4 separate regions of the Homo sapiens genome follow, and all the other regions are linked to region 1. Evidence: promoter capture Hi-C in human tissues and cell types (Jung and others, 2019). All regions are on one chromosome and are shown on one strand. The core of a region is centred on a gene start or on the middle of the fragment in contact, and the rest is flanking DNA. Distances in the headings are between cores, read along the strand shown. Region 1 holds the start of KCNE2 (potassium voltage-gated channel subfamily E regulatory subunit 2). Region 2 overlaps LOC105372790 (a long non-coding RNA gene). Region 3 overlaps LOC105372790 (a long non-coding RNA gene). Region 4 overlaps MRPS6 (mitochondrial ribosomal protein S6).

What was found. The method cuts DNA at HindIII sites, captures the fragments that hold promoters and counts their contacts. A contact is called where the count stands out against the background at its distance.
Region 2: a contact is called between a fragment that was not itself captured here and the fragment with the promoter of KCNE2 in region 1, in 1 of the 25 tissues and cell types used here (IMR-90 fibroblasts).
Region 3: a contact is called between a fragment that was not itself captured here and the fragment with the promoter of KCNE2 in region 1, in 3 of the 25 tissues and cell types used here (adrenal gland, aorta and dorsolateral prefrontal cortex).
Region 4: a contact is called between a fragment that was not itself captured here and the fragment with the promoter of KCNE2 in region 1, in 2 of the 25 tissues and cell types used here (dorsolateral prefrontal cortex and mesenchymal stem cells).

The regions. Positions count from the first base shown.
Region 1 is chr21:34,360,374-34,366,103 of GRCh38, forward strand. KCNE2 (potassium voltage-gated channel subfamily E regulatory subunit 2) reads left to right here and starts at 3,633. Exons shown (of 2, transcript NM_172201.2): 1 at 3,633-3,778. All of the region lies in intron 2 of LOC105372791 (a long non-coding RNA gene), which reads right to left. The HindIII fragment of the contact is 19,800 bases long and covers 1-5,730 here.
Region 2 is chr21:34,000,554-34,006,283 of GRCh38, forward strand. All of the region lies in intron 2 of LOC105372790 (a long non-coding RNA gene), which reads left to right. Among named protein-coding and RNA genes, the nearest start is that of MRPS6, 70 kb to the right of the region's middle. The HindIII fragment of the contact is 8,275 bases long and covers 1-5,730 here.
Region 3 is chr21:34,050,137-34,055,866 of GRCh38, forward strand. LOC105372790 (a long non-coding RNA gene) reads left to right here. Exons shown (of 4, transcript XR_937681.3): 4 at 1,575-1,812. Among named protein-coding and RNA genes, the nearest start is that of MRPS6, 21 kb to the right of the region's middle. The HindIII fragment of the contact is 5,440 bases long and covers 466-5,730 here.
Region 4 is chr21:34,091,616-34,097,345 of GRCh38, forward strand. The region is part of intron 1 of MRPS6 (mitochondrial ribosomal protein S6); the gene reads left to right. SLC5A3 (solute carrier family 5 member 3) reads left to right here. Exons shown (of 2, transcript NM_006933.7): 2 at 3,248-5,730. The coding sequence starts at 3,584. Among named protein-coding and RNA genes, the nearest start is that of SLC5A3, 21 kb to the left of the region's middle. The HindIII fragment of the contact is 6,027 bases long and covers 1-5,459 here.

The sequences.
Region 1 (5,730 bases), core at 2,383-4,882:
CATTTTAGCCTTAGCTTGATATGTTTTTTCATCACCTTATTTTCAACTTTTTATTTGTTTTTATTTTAGATGTGCATCTTTATTTTGTATTTTATTTTTTGAGACAGAGTCTTGCTGTTTCACCCAGGCTGGAGTGTAGCAGCGTGATCTTGGCTCACTGCAACCTCTGCCTCCCAGGTTCAAGTGATTCTTATGCCTCAGCCTCCCAAGTAGCTGGGATTACAGGCATATGCCACCATGCCTGGCTGATTTTTATATTTTTAGTAGAGATGAGGTTTCGCCATGTTGGCCAGGGTGGTCTCGAACTCTTGGGTTCAAGTGATCCGCCCGTCTCGCCCTCCCGAAGTGCTGGGATTACAGGTGTGAGCCACCAGCCCCAGCCTAGATGTTTATCTTTTAAGAAGCATATAGCTAGATTTTATTTTGTTATTCAGTTTAATAATACTTCTTTTAATAGGTACTTATTTTAAAGGATATTGTGATTATAGATATATTCAGATATTATCTTAGTCATTGGGGCAGTTATAGTAAAAATTATAAACTGGATGACTTATAAATAACAAAAAGTTATTGCTCATAGTTTGGAGGCTGGCAGGTCCAAGACCAAGGCACTGGCAGATGCGGTGTCTGGTGAGGTCTCCCTCTTTGATTCATAGACCGTGCCTTCTAGCTGCGACCTCACATGGTGGAAAGGGGAAGGCAACCTCCCTGTAGCCTCTTTTAAAAGGGCATTAATCGCATTCACGGGGTCTCCATCCTCTTGGCCTAACCACCTCCCAAAAGCCCTACCTTTTAGTAATATCACATGGGGAGTTAGAATTTCACTATATGAATTTTGGGGGGACACAAACATTTATGCCACAGCAGATATCTTTCTACCACCTTATTTGGTGATTTCTGGGTTTTGTTTGTTTGTTTAAGACAGAGTCTCGCTCTGTCGGCCAGGCTGGAGTGCAGTGGCACCATCTCGGCTCAATGCAACCTTCGCCTCCCCGGTTCAAGCGATTCTCCTGCCTCAGCCTCCCAAGTAGCTGGGATTACGGACGTGTGCCACCACGCCTGGCTAATTTTTGTATTTTTAGTAGAGACTGGGTTTCACCATTTTGGCCAGGCTGGTCCCGAACTGCTGAGTTCAGGTGATCCACCCGCCTCGGCCTCCCAAAGTTCTGGGATTACAGGCGTGAGCCACCATGTCCGGCTGGTGATTTCTGTTTAAAAGTTTTTTCTTAAAGTGTTTTTTCCCACCTAGTTTTTCATTGAATGGGTAAAACATTCTACATTTGCTTTTATTAAAACAAGAAATGAATTTTGCTGCATTTCAATTTATAGATTTTACTATCCTACCTCGTGCCAGGTTCTGTGCTAAGTGCTGTATATATCTGTGATCACATTTAACTTTTATAACAAGCCAAATGAGCAGGAACTCTTATCTCTATCTTACAGACGAAGAATCCAAAGACCAGGGACAGTAAGTAATTTGCTCACCTGGTTTGCCAGCCTCCATGACACATCGCCGTCCAGTTCTGCCTTTAATTACCAAAGCACAACACGCTGCTTTGATTCCCCTCTCCTCGGCGCCAGAATTCAAGAGTGAAGTTAAACCGCAAGGGCTGAGTTAGAAGATTGGCCTCAGTTCCCTGTTCCCACCAGCAGGTGGCACCGTCTCCTAGCGGAATTCTTACTTGAACGTTTTGCTTCCATTTCTGCAGAGGCATGGTGAACACAGTTACACCACCAAAGTGTTCCTCCTGGCTGAGTTTGCCTATCTTGTTCAGTGAAGACAACCCATGAGGACAAATGGTGTTAATGAGAAGCTTTTGCGGAGTTACAGAGATCCTCGTATTTCTTTAAAATACACCTAATAACGTTAACTCTGCAATAATTTGTAGATCATGTTAAATCTTAGCTATCTTCCTCTTGCCACCCAGTGTGCTTCAAGCCACATGGTTCAGAGCACCATTTAATGTGAAACTCCAATTTTAAAACAAAGTGAACCTTCCTTTTACAAAACCATGAGACAAGTTACAGAGTAATGACCACCCACATGACCTTGAAGTGATTTTGAGTGAGTGAGTGTAACTTCCGTGGCTGCCATTTAAATTGGATTCAAATCCAAATGGCTCCACCTCCATGTCATCAGACCTCTTGTGCCCTGATTCCCTTGGCTAAGTTCACAGTACCTTCCACATCAGGTTGTGGCAATGATTACCTGAGGTTAATACGATAAAAGCACATGGTAAGCACTCCTAAATGATAGCCAATATAAAGACTCAGTTCTCCCAATTCCAAGGGTCCCCACCATGATAGAAAAGGATCTTTTGGTAAATAGAGTATGTTTAGCTCTTGCTAGGTCTTTAAATACTTTGCTGGGGGCCAGGCACCATGGCTCACACCTGTAATCCCACCGCCTTAGGAGACTGAGGCTGGAGGATCCTTTGCGGCCAAGAGTTTGAGACCAGCCTGGGCAACACAGCAAGACCCTATTTCTACAAAAATAAAAATAAAAATTAACCAGGCTTTGTACACACTTGTAGTCCCATTACTTGGGAGGCTGAGGCAGGAGGATCCCTCAAGCCCAAGAGTTCAAAGCTGTAGTGAGCTATGATTGCGCCACTGCACTCCAGCCTGGGTGACAGAGTAAGACTCTGTTTCAAAACAACAACAACAAACAAAAACCTCAAAACCTCTTTGTTGGACTTAACTTCCAGCTCCTCCATGTAGTACCTTAGTACCCTTGCAGCCCGTTTCTCTTTTACAAGACAACAATGTTGTTATAAACTCATTTGGATGTGGTCCCGTGGAGGAGTATTTACCAGAATCTAGCTTATTTAGCGTCTTCAGAACACGGCACTTGCCTGGAATTATACTGACCCCCTCAACCCATACCAACCACCCAGAGATGGCTGTTCTTGGCTCCTCTCCCTGGGGCCCTGTCCTTCCCACATCGTCTTCTTCTTCTTTCTTCTTCTTTCTTCTTCCTTCTTCTTCCTTCTTCTTCCTTCTTCTTCCTTCTTCTTCCTTCTTCCTCTTCCTCTTCCTCTTCTTCTTTCTTCTTTCATTGAGACAGAGTCTCACTCTGTCACCCAGCCTGGAGTGCCGTGGTATGATTTCAGCTCACTGTAACTTCTGCCTTGTGGATTCAAGTGATTCTCCTGCCTCAGCCTCCAGAGTAGCAGGGACTACAGGTGTGTGCCACCACACCTGGCTAATTTTTACATTTTTAAGTAGAGACGGGGTTTCACCATGTTGGCAAGGCTGGTCTTGAACTCCTGATCTCAGGTGATCTGCCCGCCTCAGCCTCCCAAAGTGCTGGGATTACAGGCGTGAGCCACCCCACCCAGCCCTTCCCACGTATTCTGGCAGGGAATGCTGTTGTCCCCCAAGCCTACCCTAAGAGGAAGACTTCTTCTGGGGAAAGATGTTCACTGTACCCAGGCCCTGCCCTGGCTGGAGCTGGCAGGAAGGGTCCCAGAGCAGGAACTTGTGCCACTCTGCCCAAAGCCAGAGTCCCTGAGGCACACACCCCATCAGGCACCAAGGTGAATTCCAACTGCCAGTTAGTATTTAACTTTCCACATACGATTAGATTAAACATGTGGGTTCATAAAAGCATAGGATTGCAGACTGCAGTTGCAAGGGCTTAGATGGTTGTAAGGTGAAGGTGCCCAGCAGGCTGAGGCTTGTGTGCAACCCAGAAGAGAGCTCGCTAACGCCAGCAAGAAGGTTCAGAACAGCCTGGCTTTGGAAAGGAATTTCATCCTGCCCACACACTGCATAGGTAAGTCTTAGCACACATTCTTTATTTTTTGAGGAATTAAGTAACAAAGTTATCTATGTGCCTTTTCCAGAAAATGATAAAAGGAATGATTTTCCTGGTACATGGCCTGGCTCCTCATCCACTCTTCCTTCTTTCCTTCTTGTGTTTTCCTTACTCATTTCTTTGTTAATTGCCTTAGAATGAAAATTTTGAGAGTTTTTAAAATGGAGGATTCATGGTAAACGTAGGTAATCATATTGTTTTCTCTTCTTGATATAAAAATGAAAGACTTTGCTGCCTTTTATAGGCCCAGGTGATGTGAGCGATCTACCATGTTTCAAGAAAAGAAAACTTTGGGGCTGGGCGCGGTGGCTCACGCCTGTAATCCCAGCACTTTGAGAGGCTGAGGCAGGCGGATCACCTGAGGTCAGGAGATCGAGACCAGCCTGGCCAACATAGTGAAACCCCATCTCTACTAAAAATACAAAAAAAATTAGCCTGGCGTGGTGGCTGGCGCCTGTAGTCCCAGCTACTCAGGAAGCTGAGGCAGGAGAACGGCATGAACCCGGGAGGTGGAGCTTGCAGTGAGCCGAGATCACGCCACTGCACTCCAGCCTGGGCGACAGAGTGAGACTCCATCTCAAAAAAAAAAAAAAGAAAGAAAAGAAAACTCTGGACTTTGGGGTCAAATGAGTGTTACTTTCCTAATAGTGTCCTGATTGCTGTTGTCATGAATAACACACATTCATGACAGGAATGGCTGGAATTAGGGGATCATTCTGTAGCCTGGAGACAGGGCACAACTAATGACATGTGTAAGCTCAAATCATGGTCTTGATCTTATGTCTTGTACCCAGTTGAGCCAACTGGTCACAGCAATGAAAACAGTGAGTTATTGGAATGTGTGACCTCTGCTAGGACAGTCAGTGCTGGACACTGGCTTGGGTGATGTGAGTTCTAGTCCAGGCACTGTGGCCAACTTGAGAGGCTTGTGATCTTGGACAGGTGACTTAAGCCCTCTAGGCTATAGTTATTCCACCTATCAGAGAGCAAACCAGCCTAAATGATCTCCAGGGGCCCAGCCTGTGCTAGGACTCAGCAAGAAGCATTCACTGGAAATGTAGGTCCTCCTAGGTTGATACACATGAATTGCCCATATTTGACCATTTCTAACCTATATAAATGGCTATTTCATATAATTCCAGAGAACATAAATGGTAGTTGTCTTAGCATTACTAAAGTAAATGCCTATTATGATATTCTACTTAGGGGTAGGATAAGTATGTATACCAAATATGGTTTGTTTCGATTTGATTTTTGAGACAGGGTCTCACTGTCACTGCTGAGTGCAGTGGTGTGATCATGGCTTACTGCAGCCTTGACCTCCCAGGTTCAAGCTATCCTCCCACCTCAGCCTCCTGAGTAGCTGGGACTATAGGAGTGTGCCATCACATCCAGCTATTTTTTTATGTTTTGTAGAGGTGGTGTCTCGCTATGTTGTCCAGGCTGATCTCGAACTCCTGGGTTCAAGCGATCCTCCCACCTCGGCCTCCCGAAGTGCTGGGATTACAGGTGTGAACCACTGTGCCTGGCCTCCAAATATGGTTGATGTCTATCAGTCAGTTAAACAGTAATTCTGGGAATAAAAAATTGAAATCAACCCACTTATAATTGGAATGTCTTAGCATAATGTCCTTCAACGAAGCTGCTTTCACACACTGTGATTTGTTTTTTTCCTGTGGTCATGGAGCAGGCATGGGCCACTCGGCCACATCTCATGCATCCGTATTCAAAAGCCAAATCCCTTTTGGATCCTGTTTATTTGGCCTGGCCACGGGTGAGCACTTAGACATTTAATCCCTATAGGCCCTTTCATCCCTGTGATTAAGTCTTATCAAAAAGCACCTCCTGACCGGCTTAGCAGTGGGGCCTTTGTTCACATTAGAAGGGTTGAACAAATAATGGGCAGTTGG
Region 2 (5,730 bases), core at 2,563-5,062, 360 kb before region 1:
TGTGCCTCCACCGAGCCTCAAGCCATCCTCTGATCTCGCTAGTCAGACTTGACCACTCTTCCAGATGTGCATGATTCAACCCAACACAGCTGGCAAGGTGGAGGGGCAATATGATGTTTCACTCGTACTAATGTTGTAGCTTCACAGCCTCTTGGGGTGGTCCATAGGCCCCTCCAAGGTGGCCTTGGGTGGGTGGAAGGAGGGGCAGAGGTTGGCATCCAAATTGCTCCAGACTGAGTCTACTTTCAAGATCTATTTTGCACTGGAGATGTAAATTTCCACTTAAAAATGCAAAGTGAGCATTAACACAGAGGCGTGGCTAAAGTTATTTGCTCTGAAAAAGATGCGCAGATATTTTTGTGTCTGGTGGGAAAGGAGAGAGTGTCAAAGGATGGACAAAGGCCACCTCTGTGTGAAGGTGGCTTTTGTGATTTTGGCTTAACCAAAAGGTCCTGGAGATGGAGTGACTTGGATTCTGATTATGGGGGTGTCTGCTGTGTCCCATTCTTCTCATTCAGTTGAATTTAATTCATCAAGGAGGAATCGTGTGCCTGCTCTGTGCCAGGCACTGTCAGGTGCCGGGAATGCAGCAATGAACAAAATGTAGATCAATTCCTGCCCTCTTGGGCCTTACTACCTGGCAGAAGATATAAAAAAGGGCCACTTCCACAGCATTGTGATGACAGTGGGATGTGACCATCCCTTTCCTAGCTAGAACTGGGGATTTGGAGTCCGAAGGCCCAGTTGACGTTTCTGGCCCTTCAACTTCCAGCTGTTTGACTCGAGGCCAATTATTTATTTATTTATTTGAGACAAGGTCTTACTCTGTTGCCCAGGCTGGAGTGCAGTGGTGTGATCACAGCTCATTGCAGTCTTGAATTCCCGGGCTCGAGTGACCCTCCCACCTCAGCCTCCCATGTAGCTGGGACTACAACTGGACACCACCAGGCCTGGCTAATTTTTTAATTTGTTATAAAGACAGGAAGGAGTCTCTTATGTTGCCCAGGCTGGTCTCGAACTCCTGAGCTCATACAATCCTCTCACCTCAGCCTCCTGAGTATCTGGGACTATAGGTGTGAAGACCACGCCCAGCTGATTTTTTAATTTTTATTTTTAGTAGCGATGAGGTCTTGCTATGTTGCCCAGGCTGGTCTCCAACTCCTGAGCTCAAGAGATCCTCCCACCTCGGGCTCCCAAAGTCCTGGGATTACAGGTGTGAGCCACTGCACCTGGCCTATTTACTTTTTTTAAGCTTTAGTTTTTTTCAGTTCTCATATGAGGAAATGACATCTGCCATGTCCACTTTGTGAGTTTTTAAAAATGAGAATACAGTGAGATAATCTACCTGAAAGCTTTTTGTGAGCTCCTAAGGAGACTTTTGAACTGTTATTGGTACTATGATCTCTCACTATCCTCTATAATGTCATGATGCTACTTGTTATCAAAAGCTGACAAAAGCTATAAACGTGCACTCTTTGTCATAGTAGCCACTAGCCACATGCAGCCGAAATGGGGCTAACTGGAATTGAGATGTGCTGTGAGGGTAAAATACACACTAAACTGTGAATTTAGTAAAAAAAAAAAAAAAAAAAAAGTAAATCTCTTATATTGAATATATTTTTGATCTTTTGGGTTAAATTGAATATATTACTTAAAGTAATTTTTTTTTTTGGAGACTAGGTCTTACTCTGTGGCCTAGGCTGAAGTGCAGTGGCGTGATCCTGGCTCACTGCAACCTCAACCTCCTGAGCTGAAGAGATCCTCCCACCTAAGCCTCCTAGGTAGCTGGGACCACAGGTGTGTGCAACCGAACCCGGCTAAGTTTATTTTTTGTGTGTATTTTTTTGGAGAGATGGAGTTTCGCCATGTTGCCCAGGCTGGTCTTGAATTTCTGGGCTCAAGCGATCCTCCCACCTCGGCCTCCCAGAATGTTGGGATTACAGCAGGCCTAGCCTAATTTTGTTAATTTTTAAATGTGGCTACCAGAGAACTTTAAATGAACTATGTGGCTCACATTATGTATTGACTGAACAATGCATCTGTAGAGGCTGTCTTTGGAAGTTTACTATATAACCAAGACCCACGAACACTCATGCAGTTCCCAGGGGTATCATGGACTGCTTAAAGTCCCATCTGTGAAACCCTAACATGATGATTTTAAAGGTTACTTTTCATTTACATTCAAAATGTACATAAAGAATGTCCCTGTGAGATTAGATCACTTAAGGGAGAACCATGTCTGTGTTTCACTACGCAGAAAATGGTTTCATCGTCTTTGTCCTGAAAGCCACTGCCTGGAAGGGCTGTGCAGCGCTCAGAGTGGGAGAGGCAGACCTCTGAGACAAATGACTTCAGCATCACTACAGCTGTGGCTAGAATGAGAACAGCCTCAAATTTCACTAATGAAGAGATTTTCTGAGTTCCATGTGAGCAACGCCGCTTCCTTCCCATCCCCGAGTGATTCCCCTTGTCAAAGAAAAAAGACACAACCAAAAGGGAGAGCTGCCATCCTTTCAGGTCCCTTCTTGTTCTTCGTCTCACTGAATTCACCCCTAAATGCTTTGAAGTATTCTCCATGACTGTTTCATCAACTGAGGAAAGGAGGCCCAGAATGGCTTAGAAACTTGCTAACTGGTTTAGAAGAAGAACTGAGATTCAAATGCTTTGCAGTGTAGGTCTGCTTCTGCCACAAAATGGCAGCCAGGGGAGGAAGGAGAAAGTGAGGAAAGGGGGAAAATTAGCGCTCGGGCTTTGTCAGATCTCAGGAGAGGCGGACGCTGGCTAAGCCCCATCGCCTTATCTTTATTTTGTGAGAAGCAAACTGTGGGGTTTGGTTGCAAGAGAAGATCTTACTAGGGACCAGTTGCAGGGTGTATTAATCAGGGGTTTCCAGAGAAACAGAACTAATAGGATCTATCTGCCTGTCATCTCTCTCTCTCTCTCCTATCTATCTATCTATCTATCTATCATCTATCTATCTATCATCTATCTATCTATCTATCTATCTATCTATCTATCATCTAATCTATCATCTATCTATCTATTCATCATCTATTTATCAACTATCATCTCTCATCTATCAACTATTTGTTTGCCATCTATTATCTATCTATCATCTATTTATCTATTAATCATCTATTTATTAACTATCAATCTATCATCTGTCATCCATCAACTATTTATCTGTCTATCCATTCTCTATCTATCTGTCTCTCTGTCTGTCAATCAGTCAGTCAATCCATCGCCAGAATTGGCTCACATTATTATGGAGGCTGAGAAGTCCCACAATCTGATCTACCATCTGAAAGCTGGAGACCCAGGAAAGCTGGTGGTGTAATTCAGTCCTGGGAATGGAGGTGGTGGGAGGATACTGGCGTCAGTTCCAGACTCTAAAGGCTCGAGAACCAGGAGCTCCAAAGTTCAAGGGCAGGAAAAAATGAATGTCCCAGTTGAAGATGAGAAAACAAATTCACCCTTCCTCTGCCATTGTGTTCTATTCAGGCCCTCAATGGATGGGATGAGGCCTACACACACTGCTGAGGGCTCTCTTCTTTGCTCAGCCGACCAATTCAAACGCTCATCTTTTCCAGAAACACCCTCATAGACACACCCAGGAATAATCTTTTACCAGCTATCTGGGCATCCCTTAGCCCAGTCAAGTTGACACATTAAAATTAACCATCCTACAGGGATTTCCTACCGTTTTGGGGAAGCCATCTTTTCATGGCTTCCTTCCAGAGGAAAATTCCTGCTATATGCTTGACAGAAAGAACAAAACCCCAAACATACAAAAAGACCAGTCTGTGGAATGTAGACAATTTGGGTCAGATGTGGTTCCCTGCCTAGAGGAGCCAGTGAGATGAGCCATTTCCATCCACCAAAGATGGGCTTGAAATGTGGTCTACCTTTCAACATGGTGCCACTGAGGGCTTCTGAGCTGGCTGTGATCATCTGACAAAACGCTGTGTTGGCCAACTCATAGAAGAGTTTGCTAGCTGGCCTGGCCCCAAGCAGAAGCAGCAGGTTACTGCCCAAATTCTCCAAGTGGGATGACCAGCGGCTATATAAAGGGCAAACAAACAAGAAAGCCTTTCTTTCTGAGAATGTTTCCACTGCAGTTAGGTTAGAAAATGATCCAGGGAAGATATAAACTAGCCCTTTCATTTAGCAAAATAAAATGCCTATCCGCTTGGTAATCTGTGCAGTGGAAGTCAGAGCCAGAGTCTTGTTTTTAAAGATTTTGTTTAATTCACCACCCCCATACCTCCCCTCCCACTGCCTAGCATCAGGCTGGACAAGAAGAAAAGGGACACTGGCCTGCAGATGCTGCCACGTGACATGTCCTTATAGAATAGCTTCTGTGACATTTGTATTAAGTAACCACAGGAAAAAAGGTGAGGTGTTGATGACAGAAGGCATCTGTATTTTCTGGGGTTGGGTTCCAGTTTTAATGAATATGGATAATGCACAAAACATCTCATTTTTCGGAGCTGTGTTTTTTCATTAAACACTGCCACTCTGCATGGGAAAGGAACTGGACATTCCTGACACATTATTTGGCAGGTCTCAATCGCAAGTGCTCCAATATTGGCTTTCGGAAACCCATTCCAGATTTGGCCCAGATTGTCAAATCTTGTCCAGAGCACCAAGTCAAAAGGTGCCTCTAAGCCCTGGGCAGAGTGCCAGGCTCTGAAAAACACTGGCTGGATCTCCTCAGGGACCCTGGCTGAGACAGGCGAGTGATTTGTTCTTCAAATGACCTTTCCCTCCTTGGAAAAGAGCACCCGGAATAAAAGTGCAAGATGTGCTTCAGATGTCCCCCAAGAGTTTAACACAAGCAGAGGTATTGAGGGGCTTCTGTGTATTGACCAAAGAAGAAACATTTTTTTGGCTGGGCATGGTGGCTTACGCCTGTAATCTCAGCACTTTGGGAGGCTGAGGCGGGTGGATCACCTGAGGTCAGGAGTTCGAGACCAGCCTGGCCAACATGGTGAAACTCCCATCTCTACCCACAAATACAAAAATTCGCCAGGCATCACCTGTAATCCCAGCTACTCGGGAGGCTGAGGCAGGAGAATTGCTTGAACCCGGGAGGCGGAGGTTGCAGTGAGTGTGGTGGTGGGCACCTGTAATCTCAGCTACTCAGGAGGCTAAGGCAGGGGAATCAATTGATCCGATCTTGGCTGCAGTGAGCCAAGATCGAACCACTGCACCCCAGCCTCGGCAACAGAGCAAGACTCCATCTCAAAAACAAAAACAAATGAACAAACGAACAAAAAGAAACATTTTTTCCCTGTGGTAGGATGTCTGCCCTCAAGCAGTGAACCCAACTACTGTAGAACTGGTGGCACCTGTCCAATTAAAAATGACATTTGCTTTAAGGTAAAAATATATTATATATTAGGGTTGGGGCTCTGTCTTCTCCTGAGTAGTGTGTCATCCAGCATTTTTCAAAGCATGGTCTGGAGACCCTCCTACATCAGAATCAGGGGACGTGTTTCAATTACAAATTTCTGACCAAACCACCTACCAAATACGTGGGAACTAGAGCTAAGAATTTTCACTGTACCAAGCTCCAGGAAATCCTGATATACCCCAAAGTTTGTGAGCCATTGGATGTAAAAAACCACATACATATATATAAAATTGTTGTTGTTTGTTTGTTTTTGAGATGGAGTCTTGCTCTGTCTCCCAGGCTGGAGTGCAATGGCGCTATCTTGGCTCACTGCA
Region 3 (5,730 bases), core at 1,936-4,435, 310 kb before region 1:
CACTTTGAGAAAACAGTTTAGCATTCTCTATTAAAGTAGAAGATATGCGTATATTATGACCCAACAATTCCACTCCTAGATATGTGCCCAATAGAAATGCATGCACGTGGGCACCAAGAAACGGACAAGAACAGTTAAAGCAGAGCTGCTCCCAACAGCCTCAGAATTTACTCAGCCCAATTGTCCTTAACAGTAGGATGGATAAATAAATTGTGGTGTATTTACTGAATAAAATACAGTAGCTGGCTCACACCCAGTACTTTGGGAGGCCGAGGCAGGCGGATCACCTGAGGGCAGGAGTTTGAGACCAGCCTGACCAACATGGAGAAATTCCGTCTCTACTAAAAAAATACAAAATTACCTGGCCGTGGTGGCACATGCCTGTAGTCCCAGCTACTCGGGAGGCTGAGGCAGGAGAATCACTTGAACCCAGGAGGCGGAGGTTGCGGTGAGCCAAGATTGCGCCATTGCACTCCAGCCTGGGCAACAAGGTAGAAACTCCACGAAAACAAATGAACCTTGGCTGCATGGAGCAACATGGAGAAATCTCCAAAAATGATTTTGAGTGAAAGAAACCAAGCACAAAAGAAGGTGTACTGAAAGATTCCATTTATATGAAATTCAAAAAGCAAAACTAAACTCTAATATTTAAGAATACAAGTTGTGATGGTAAAACTGTCTTTTAAAAAATCAGGGAAATGACTTCCATAAAAATCAGGGTAGTGGCTACTTTAATCAGAGAGGGATGGTATGGTGATTGGAATACAGAGGAGGTTTCTGGAATGCTGGTAATATTTTATTTCTTGAATAGGGTTATATGGATGTTCACTTTGGGATAAACCATTGAGCGATACATTTTTGTTTTTTCCCTGTTCTATATTTGTTTTAACACACACACACACACACACATACACACACACACACACAGACATACACACACACACAAACATATGCGCACACACAATTATAAAAAGAAAAAACAGAATGGTTACATATACTAAGTACAGTAAATTACGAAATGCTGAGTATCAGTCTTTAAACATGAAGTAGATTTATACATAGAGATTTGGAGAGTTTTTGAAGCTGTACCATTACCACTGAGAAAATAAAACAGTCTGCAGAATGATGCACACAATGCAATACATGTATATCAAAACAATGCTATACATGTTTACATATACAGCACAGTCATCATGCATAGAAGTACATAGAATTAATTTCAGAGGCATACATCCAGTCTAAAAACAGTGATTACTTCTAGAGAAGGGACTGAGTATTTGCTGAGAGGGCTATCCGTATGACTGGTATAACTAAAAATAAAAAAAACAAACAAAAGAAGAAGAAAGAAAGGAGGAAGAGAGGAAAGAGGGGAGGGAAGGAAGAAGAGATGAGCAAACCTAGAATTTTGAGCCAGGCCCCCCAAGATCACAATGGAGATGGTATTGAGCAGCTTCATCTAGAATGTTCCTTGAACATTTCTTTCCTACTTCCACTTTTGGGGTTGCCATAAATTTTAAGAATTTGTTCATTCACTCATTCATTCAACAAACATATATATTATTGTGTTTCCTAAGGCAGAGCTTTCGGGAGTTTTCGTGTTTCAGTCCAGCCACCGAGTGGGCCAACATTTGATGATCACATGAAAACCTCGCTCCAATAACATTCAAAATCTTCACCATGAACAGGTGCTGGGTAGATCATGTTTATAAGAATTGTGTGCATTTCTGAGTGTTTAGAATTGTATGTGTTTAGGCTGAGCGCATTGGCTCATGCCTGTAATCTTAGCACTTTGGGAGGCCAAAGCAGGCGGATTGCTTATGTCCAGGAGTTCAAGACCAGCCTGGGCAGCATGGCAAAACTCCATCTCTACTAAAAATAAAACACAAATTAACTGAGCATGGTGGTGCCTGCCTGTAGTTTCAGCTACTTGGTTGGGGACTGAGGTGGGAGGATTGCTTGAGCCCAGGAGGTCGAGGTTGCAGCGAGCCTAAATCGCACCACTACACTCCAGCCTGAGTGACAAAGTGAGACCCTGTCTCAAGAACTGTGTTTTTATTTATTAAGTTAATCAAAGCTTTAAAAGTCTCAAAAGATAACAATGGCTGAGCAGCTTGTAGGACTCTGGGAAACTGCAGGGGAAATACTCATGAAACCTTAAGGAGTAATTTAATAGACTTAGAGATGAAAACGAAACCCCAAGGAGACAGCCCAGGCACAGTAGAAAGAGAGACACACAGTTGTACCAGTCGTTTAGAAGCAGATGTGAACGATGGCCCAGGTGTGACGATCATGGTAGAACTTGATGCAGGACATGTGTGTGGCAGGAAATACAGGCATGTTTTCACACATTCCATCAGGCACAAATGTGCTCTTCGTGTCCAAGAGATTATCTTCTAAACTTGGCCTTTCCAGTGGCACATGTCAGTAAATCTCTGATACTTGACTAGATCTGCTTCTAGAAACAGAAAGAAGCTTCATCTTTCTTTCCATCGCCACAGCCTCCGGGGGTGGCCTCCCTCTCCTACCACCCCTACCATTCATTCTCCATCTGCAGTTGGCATGCTCCTTTAAGAGTGTAAATTAGGGGCCAGGCGCAGTGGCTCACGCCTATAATCCCAGCACTTTGGGAGGCTTAGCGGGTGAAGCGCTTGACAGGAGTTGGAGACAGGAGTTTGAGACCAGCCTGGGCAACATGGTGAAACCCTGTCTCTACTAAAAATAGAAAAAATTAGCCAGGTGTGGTGGTGTGTGCCTGCAATTCTAGCTACTCAGGAAGCTCAGGCAGGAGAACTGCTTGAACCCAGGAGGCAGAGGTTGCAGTGAGCTAAGATTGTGGCACTGCACTCCAGCCTGGGCAACAGAGCAAGACTCTGTCTCAAAAAAAAAAAAAAAAGAGTGTAAATTAGATAATCTTTCTTCCTTGCTTAAAACTCTGCAATAGGCCTGGCATGGTGGCTCACGCCTGTAATCCCAGCACTTTGGGAGGCCAAGGCGGGCGGATCACGAGGTCAGGAGATCGAGACCATCCTTGCTAACACAGTGAAACCCCCTCTCTACTAAAAATACAAAAAAATTAGCTGGGCGTGGTGGCACGCGCCTGTAATCCCAGCTACTTGGGAGGCTGAGGCAAGAGAATCACTTGAACCTGGAAGGTGGAGGTTGCAGTGAGCCGAGATCATGTCACTGCACTCCAGCCTGGCAACAGGGCGAGACTCTGTCTCAAAAACAAAACAAAACCGAACAAAAACCCTGCAATAAGGACAATTTTTATTAAGTGTTGGTGCTGTATTCATATTTTCTCATGTAATCCTCCTAAGTCTCCAAGCACCTCAGTACCGTCATCATTCCCAACTCACTGATGAGGAAGTTGGGCTTAAGGGGGGCCTGCCCAGGCCGGGTGCAGTGGCTCACTGTAATCCCAGCCTGTAATCCCAGCACTTTGGGAAGCCAAAGTGGGCGGATCACCTGAGGTCAGGAGCACTTTGGGAGGCCGAAGTGAGGGGATCACTTGGGGTGAGGAATTCGAGACTGGCCTGGCCCAGATGGTGAAATCCCATTTCTAATAAAAAATGCAAAAATTAGCTGGGCGTGGTGGCAGGCACCTGTAATCCCAGCTACTTGGGAGGCTGAGGCAGGAGAATTGCTTGAACCCGGGAGGCAGAGGTTGTGGTGAGCCGGGATCGTGCCACTGCACTCCAGCCTGGGTGACAGAGTGAGACTCCATATCAAAAAAAAAAAAAAAAAAAAGAAAGAGGGGCTTCCCAAATCACTCCAGCTAATGTGGAGGCTGCTCTCCCACCTCCAAGAATGCCTCCTCCTCCCGTTATGATGTTTTCTTCATAGCATTTATCACTCTCTGAGATTTCCACTTATTTATGTGTTTACAGTCAGCCTTTTCCCACTAGAATAGAAGCCTTAAGAGTAGAGGGACTTTAATTTTTTCACTGCCATATTCCCTGTGCCAAAATGATGCCTGGCACATAGTTGGCATTCAATAAAAATCTGGCCCAGTGAACTTCATGCTACTCTGAAAAGTTTATTAAATGTATCCAAGGTGACCAAGACATTAACCTGCATTTATAATGAACTATATAAATAAATGTAGTCAACAAATATTTTATTAACTCAAAAGTAAGAATGATCTGTGTTATCTTCACATGGTTTGTTTACCAAATACAGACCATATACCAGTCGTTTTTAGGCACCGGTGATAAAAACACCCAGGTCCTTATCTTAAGGGGCTCATAAATGTGTGTGTGTGTGTGTATGTGTGTGTAGGAAGTGGGTGGGAAAGGGAATATAAGCAAGTAAACAGTGTCACTACACTGTGTGGTCAATACAATTATGGAGGTAAACACAGGTGCTGGTGACATAGGGGAAGGGCAGGTAGATCTGAAGGGGGATGAGGAAGGGTGTTGGCAAAGCTTTCGAGAGGAGCTGAGAATACAGTTGAGTTGGGAAGAACAAATAGTGATTATCCAAAGAAAGAATAGGGAAGCGTAAATAGGGCTGGAGAAGCAACTTGTTCTGGGTAGGGAAGCACCATGCTTCGGGAGCTGCAGGGTCGTGAGTTTAACGGTGGAGAATACAGCTGGGATGTGGTGAGGGATCAATCTCGGTGTGCATGGTGCAGCCCTTCGTAGATGACCCTGATATCAGTGGACATCACTTACCCATGTCTGCTTTATTTTCCAGTGGGTTCCCAGTGCTAGTGTGGTGCCTGTCAGATGGAAGGCCCTCAGTAAATATTTCCTGAATGAGTGAATGAATGAATGGATTTGGAATGTTACCCCCAGTACCCCTCGTTCCAGGAGGCAGTTAGAGTTTTACGTAAACAGAAATGTGATCTGATCAACATGCTGTTTGAGAAGGACCACTCTGGGAGCCCGAGAGTAGAAGAGGGAAGACCCGGGTCAGTGAGGCAGGTAAACAAGTGCGTGTGGGAGTGCATTTGAGGGCTGTGGAGTGAGGTGGGTGGCAAGGAAGGAATGGATTTGAGAGCTCCTTGGTGACCTACTGGATGGAAGTAAGAAATAAGGTCACCTCTAGGAGGTTTTCTGATTTCTGGTACAAGGCCTGGGTATGTGGTGGGGCCATTCACAGGACATGAGACTGGAGGTGGCGCAGCCTAAAGGCAAGATACTGGGTTCAGCTGACACCTGGAACACCCAGGTAGAAATGTCTAATGATCAGCCAAAACCTGGGCCTGGGGCCAGGAGACAGGTCTGGGCTGGAAGAAGGTCTGGACATCAGCAGGGTCTGGGCAGTGCTGGAAACCAGACAGTAGGAGGAGAGCACTCAGAGAGGGAGCCCTGTGGGGTGGGCACAGCAGTGGTCTTGGGGGCAGATGGAAGGAATCGGCAGAGGTGACCCAAAGCTGGCTAGCTGGTGGCAGTGGAACCAGTTATGGTTTGGGGGGGTGGAACAAGTTATGGTTTGGGGGAATCAATGGCAGCTGCAAGAGGACCTTGTCATTTTCACCTGCAATAGTGAAAGAATGCCCAGGTTGGAAGCTGAAAAAATAAAATCCAAGATAGAATGAGGTGGGAGGAATGGGCTGAGGCAGGCAGCTTGGAACCAAGAAGGAAGTGGATGCTGGAACTCCCTTTTTATATGGTTCCCTGGGCGAAGTGCAGGGTGAGGTGGCTTTCAGGAACCATTGGGATGAGGCGGTTTCTGCCTTTGAGTAACTTTCCATGCCACCACCCAGGAGATTAGAGCTTCTTCTTC
Region 4 (5,730 bases), core at 1,196-3,695, 270 kb before region 1:
ATTAATTCTTCAGTTGCAATTTAATTTATCCAGATGCGTGGAATAGAACCAAAACTGCATTCTAATTCTGTGCAAAACAATAAAATACTACTTTCTGAGAAGGATGCCTTCTCTTTTGGGAAGAAGGGGAATCTGCTCTGTTTCAAAGCACCTTTGTGTTCAAGGTTTGGCTAAATCTGCTCATCACCACTAGGGGACTGTTTCTTTTTGCATTCTACAAGTATTACTCCCATTACAGAAGCTTTTTAAGAAAAAAATGGACTACCAAGGAACCCACCTACATGCTTTTCATAACTATACCTATTTTATTGTCTTATAATTTTACTTGAGAGGTTTGCGTGAATGATGAACTGTGACAAAAAGCATATATAAATATAAAAATACAAGTTAAAAAGCCTCATGTTAGCTGAAGATTCTTCCATGTGTATTCTTATAAAAATAAGGGAACCCTGGACAGTGCTCATTGTATTTTGTTGAAGAAATGTTAACTTCTTTAAAAGGAAGAAAAACATATATATATATATAACATACTGTATATTCAGAACCATTTTTAAGGAATGTAGTTTATCTCTTGAAAGACTGAAATTCAAGGCTGTGACTGTGACTAGAGTGTAAAATATAGCTGCATTGCATTATAGTATTTTATATATTTCTACAAACCAAATTGACCTGTTTTTGGTTTTGTTTTTCCTTTTCCAGTCTTTACCAGGTGCTGGTCTCTGCATGTGTTTTGTTTAAGTTGGAAAAATCTAGACACGACCCACAGAGTGGTATGGTATCCAGTGAGAAGGGAACTGTCCGCAGTGGCTTTGAAGGATATGAGGAAGCCTAGGCGGAGAGTTGAGAATTCAGCCTTGAGCTAGTGTTAGGGTACTATTTGGTACCTCTCCTGTGGGCAGAGCGACTTTACTAGAGAAGTTAGGAGTTAGGGCTAGCATGAGAACTTCATGCAGTTTGAGCATTCATCAGGCAGCAGAATATAGCTTCTATATTTACCTTGCATAAATCAGATTTGACAATGAAGAACAATGTTACTGATAGTAACAGTGCTTCCCAGTGATTGAGGAAGTGCTTGTTTTCTTTTTCAGCACTTTGTTCTCTGAACAAATAAGCTGCAGCAGCTACTATGACACATAACCCACCCTATTTCCCCCCCAACGGCCAGATGAAACCAGAAATACCCACTGTGTTTTTCTCTCCCTTCTTTGGAAAGCACGTGGTTGCTACTGCCATTGGGAAGAGTGATACCTGATTAGCCAGGTAGCCTTCTGAAAATTGAAACAAGTGGCCTGAGGATGACTTGGATGGCTGTTGGGTAGCAGAGAGCCCTGGAGGCAGGGTTTCATAACTGCGAACAGCAGTTTTCATTGTAATTGACACAGCAGTTTTCATTGTAATTGACAAGCTTCCCTTATGCAGAAACATTTAACGATACCTTTTTAAATAATGTTTACTAGTCATCTGATTAGATTTTATTAAAAATTTAGATGATTCGTCCTACATAATGTCAAAGCATTTGTTTAAAAACTTGGAAGCTTTTGGGGGTGGGGAAGGTGGTCATAGAAATATGATCATCTTCAGGATTTGGCAGGTATGAAGTGATACAAACCTCAACTTTTAAGATTTTTTTTTTTTTTTTTGCTTTTCTCTGGCAATCAATCTTATTTATGCCAGCCGTTGACACTTAGAAAGGATTTAAATCACTTTTCATAGCATAATTATTGTATTGCTTAATGCTTTAAAAAGGCACGCAGATGGGATTGAGACATTTCTATCCAGGCAGTTTTTTCTGCATTAGACCTAAGAACCTAATTTTGTAGGGCAGTAGTCTCTAGGCATTATGTTTAGCTCCTTTTGTCAGTGAGAAGTGTGTTGTAAAGTTTCTAATACTGTGGTCTGTTTTGAACGGTTTTGAGAAGAGGTAGCTTTAGTATAATTTATAGGACTTAAAAGGAAAATGCCTAGAATCATCAGAAAAAGCATGGAAAAACATTCTTCTCTGAGGTTGCCTTATTGGAAAAGGAGAAATCATTTAGAAGTTAATGTGTGGAAGGCATTAGGTTGAATAAAATTGTTGTTCGTATTGATCTGTCAGCTGCAATTACAATTAACTGAAAATTTAGTATTTGTCTCTTTTTCAGGAGAGAAGCCGTCAAATTTTAATACATTTAATTTTAGGTATATTTAAATGTCTGTTTTGCAGAGTGATTATCTTAATCCAGAACTGAAAAATTCCTGATGGTCCTACTGAAGATTTATCTAATGGTCCACAAATGTCTGTTTTGTTGAGGTTTGGCGGACATAATAATAAATCATTTTTTAGTCTTCTGAAAACTTTTCTCCTCCTCCCTCTTTTCTCTGCTTCTTATACCCTTCAACAAAAAGCATTAAAAGGAAAACATAAAATCACGCCTTTAGTCAGTGCCGTTATCCTCTCAGAGGTTGTTTTGGAAATACTGCCTGATGAAAAGGAAGAGAAGGAAATTGCTTCTTTTAAAGTTTGCTTTTTATCTTCTTGCAGCATCTTCTAACTGGCAGAAATAATACAATTTTTGAGTTGTTTTGTAAGTTGGATATTTTTAGTTTTGTGTGGAATGTCGTGTTTCCCATTAGGGCAGGGGGCGTCTCACAAGATCTAGGTTACTGTATGACAACTATATCCATTTACTGGAGTTTAAGAAGCTTTATAACAATACATTTCCAGAGACTAGGCAGTACTTGGTTTTCTGTATTTAAATTTTCTGAGGGTAGATGATAACATCTAGTAAACACCACCTGCCTGTTCCATCCAGGACCCTAACTGGCCATAAAGTTACCCCCAAACTCTCTTAGGATTCATAGTATTTTAAGATTTCATTTTTGTGCCCTTATTACGAATATAATTAGTGTTTTCTCCCCTTTAGGGTGCTTTAAGATCTTAGTGCCTGTCCTAATCTGAGCATACCACAGTAAGACAAGAAAGGGCAATGCTGTGGTAGGCAGTTAGCTGCTGAAGTTAGGCCACTTAGTTATGAGGTAGATGAATTTCTGTCCTCAGCTCAAAATGATAATATTCTCACTGACAAAAGTATCAGCTGTGATCATATAGATTGCTCTTTCCTGTGGAACTGAAGTGTATTAAAAAAATTTTTTTTCTTCCAATAAAGAATGTCTCGTTGCGCCGGGTTTGCTAGACTGAAAGTTTCCTCATCACGTGGCGAGACCTCCTCTACTTCAATCTTTGTCTTTTGTCTCTGCTGCCTTGCAGGGTTGGTACAGTAGGCTTCACTAGACTTAGCTGCAACTCAGAATTTCTCCTCCAGCACCTGAGTAAATGCTGATGGTCTTGTGGAGAGTGGATTAAGAGTACGAGCTAAGTTCTCAATCCCAATTAAGAAGCGGAAAATTTAAACTGTCTTCTTCAAAGTTTATCACAACCACCACCATCAAGACAGCAAACCAAAGGACAAAGACTTTGACCCTGCTGTGTTGCTCTGTGTAGTCCAGTTCACGTATGGTTTACAGACTTGGCTGGGGTTACTAAAAATAAATAAAAAGTTGGACACTTCTGTCATTGGAGCGCTATTATTCACAAGTTACCAGAATGAGAGCTGTACTGGACACAGCAGACATTGCCATAGTGGCCCTGTATTTTATCCTGGTCATGTGCATTGGTTTTTTTGCCATGTGGAAATCTAATAGAAGCACCGTGAGTGGATACTTCCTGGCGGGGCGCTCTATGACCTGGGTAGCAATTGGTGCCTCTCTGTTTGTGAGCAATATTGGGAGTGAGCACTTCATTGGGCTGGCAGGATCTGGAGCTGCAAGTGGATTTGCAGTGGGCGCATGGGAATTCAATGCCTTACTGCTTTTACAACTTCTGGGATGGGTTTTCATCCCAATTTACATCCGGTCAGGGGTATATACCATGCCTGAATACTTGTCCAAGCGATTTGGTGGCCATAGGATTCAGGTCTATTTTGCAGCCTTGTCTCTGATTCTCTATATTTTCACCAAGCTCTCGGTGGATCTGTATTCGGGTGCCCTTTTTATCCAGGAGTCTTTGGGTTGGAATCTTTATGTGTCTGTCATCCTGCTCATTGGCATGACTGCTTTGCTGACTGTCACCGGAGGCCTTGTTGCAGTGATCTACACAGACACTCTGCAGGCTCTGCTCATGATCATTGGGGCACTTACACTTATGATTATTAGCATAATGGAGATTGGCGGGTTTGAGGAAGTTAAGAGAAGGTACATGTTGGCCTCACCCGATGTCACTTCCATCTTATTGACATACAACCTTTCCAACACAAATTCTTGTAATGTCTCCCCTAAGAAAGAAGCCCTGAAAATGCTGCGGAATCCAACAGATGAAGATGTTCCTTGGCCTGGATTCATTCTTGGGCAGACCCCAGCTTCAGTATGGTACTGGTGTGCTGACCAAGTCATCGTGCAGAGGGTCCTTGCAGCCAAAAACATTGCTCATGCCAAAGGCTCTACTCTTATGGCTGGCTTCTTAAAGCTCCTGCCAATGTTTATCATAGTTGTCCCAGGAATGATTTCCAGGATACTGTTTACTGATGATATAGCTTGCATCAACCCAGAGCACTGCATGCTGGTGTGTGGAAGCAGAGCTGGTTGCTCCAATATTGCTTACCCACGCCTGGTGATGAAGCTGGTTCCTGTGGGCCTTCGGGGTTTAATGATGGCAGTGATGATTGCAGCTCTGATGAGTGACTTAGACTCTATCTTTAACAGTGCCAGTACCATATTCACCCTCGATGTGTACAAACTTATCCGCAAGAGCGCAAGCTCCCGGGAGTTAATGATTGTGGGGAGGATATTTGTGGCATTTATGGTGGTGATCAGCATAGCATGGGTGCCAATCATCGTGGAGATGCAAGGAGGCCAGATGTACCTTTACATTCAGGAGGTAGCAGATTACCTGACACCCCCAGTGGCAGCCTTGTTCCTGCTGGCAATTTTCTGGAAGCGCTGCAATGAACAAGGGGCTTTCTATGGTGGAATGGCTGGCTTTGTTCTTGGAGCAGTCCGTTTGATACTGGCCTTTGCCTACCGTGCCCCAGAATGTGACCAACCTGATAATAGGCCGGGCTTCATCAAAGACATCCATTATATGTATGTGGCCACAGGATTGTTTTGGGTCACGGGACTCATTACTGTAATTGTGAGCCTTCTCACACCACCTCCCACAAAGGAACAGATTCGAACCACCACCTTTTGGTCTAAGAAGAACCTGGTGGTGAAGGAGAACTGCTCCCCAAAAGAGGAACCATACAAAATGCAAGAAAAGAGCATTCTGAGATGCAGTGAGAATAATGAGACCATCAACCACATCATTCCCAACGGGAAATCTGAAGACAGCATTAAGGGCCTTCAGCCTGAAGATGTTAATCTGTTGGTAACCTGCAGAGAGGAGGGCAACCCAGTGGCATCCTTAGGTCATTCAGAGGCAGAAACACCAGTTGACGCTTACTCCAATGGGCAAGCAGCTCTCATGGGTGAGAAAGAGAGAAAGAAAGAAACGGATGATGGAGGTCGGTACTGGAAGTTCATAGACTGGTTTTGTGGCTTTAAAAGTAAGAGCCTCAGCAAGAGGAGTCTCAGAGACCTGATGGAAGAGGAGGCTGTTTGTTTACAGATGCTAGAAGAGACTCGGCAAGTTAAAGTAATACTAAATATTGGACTTTTTGCTGTGTGTTCACTTGGAATTTTCATGTTTGTTTATTT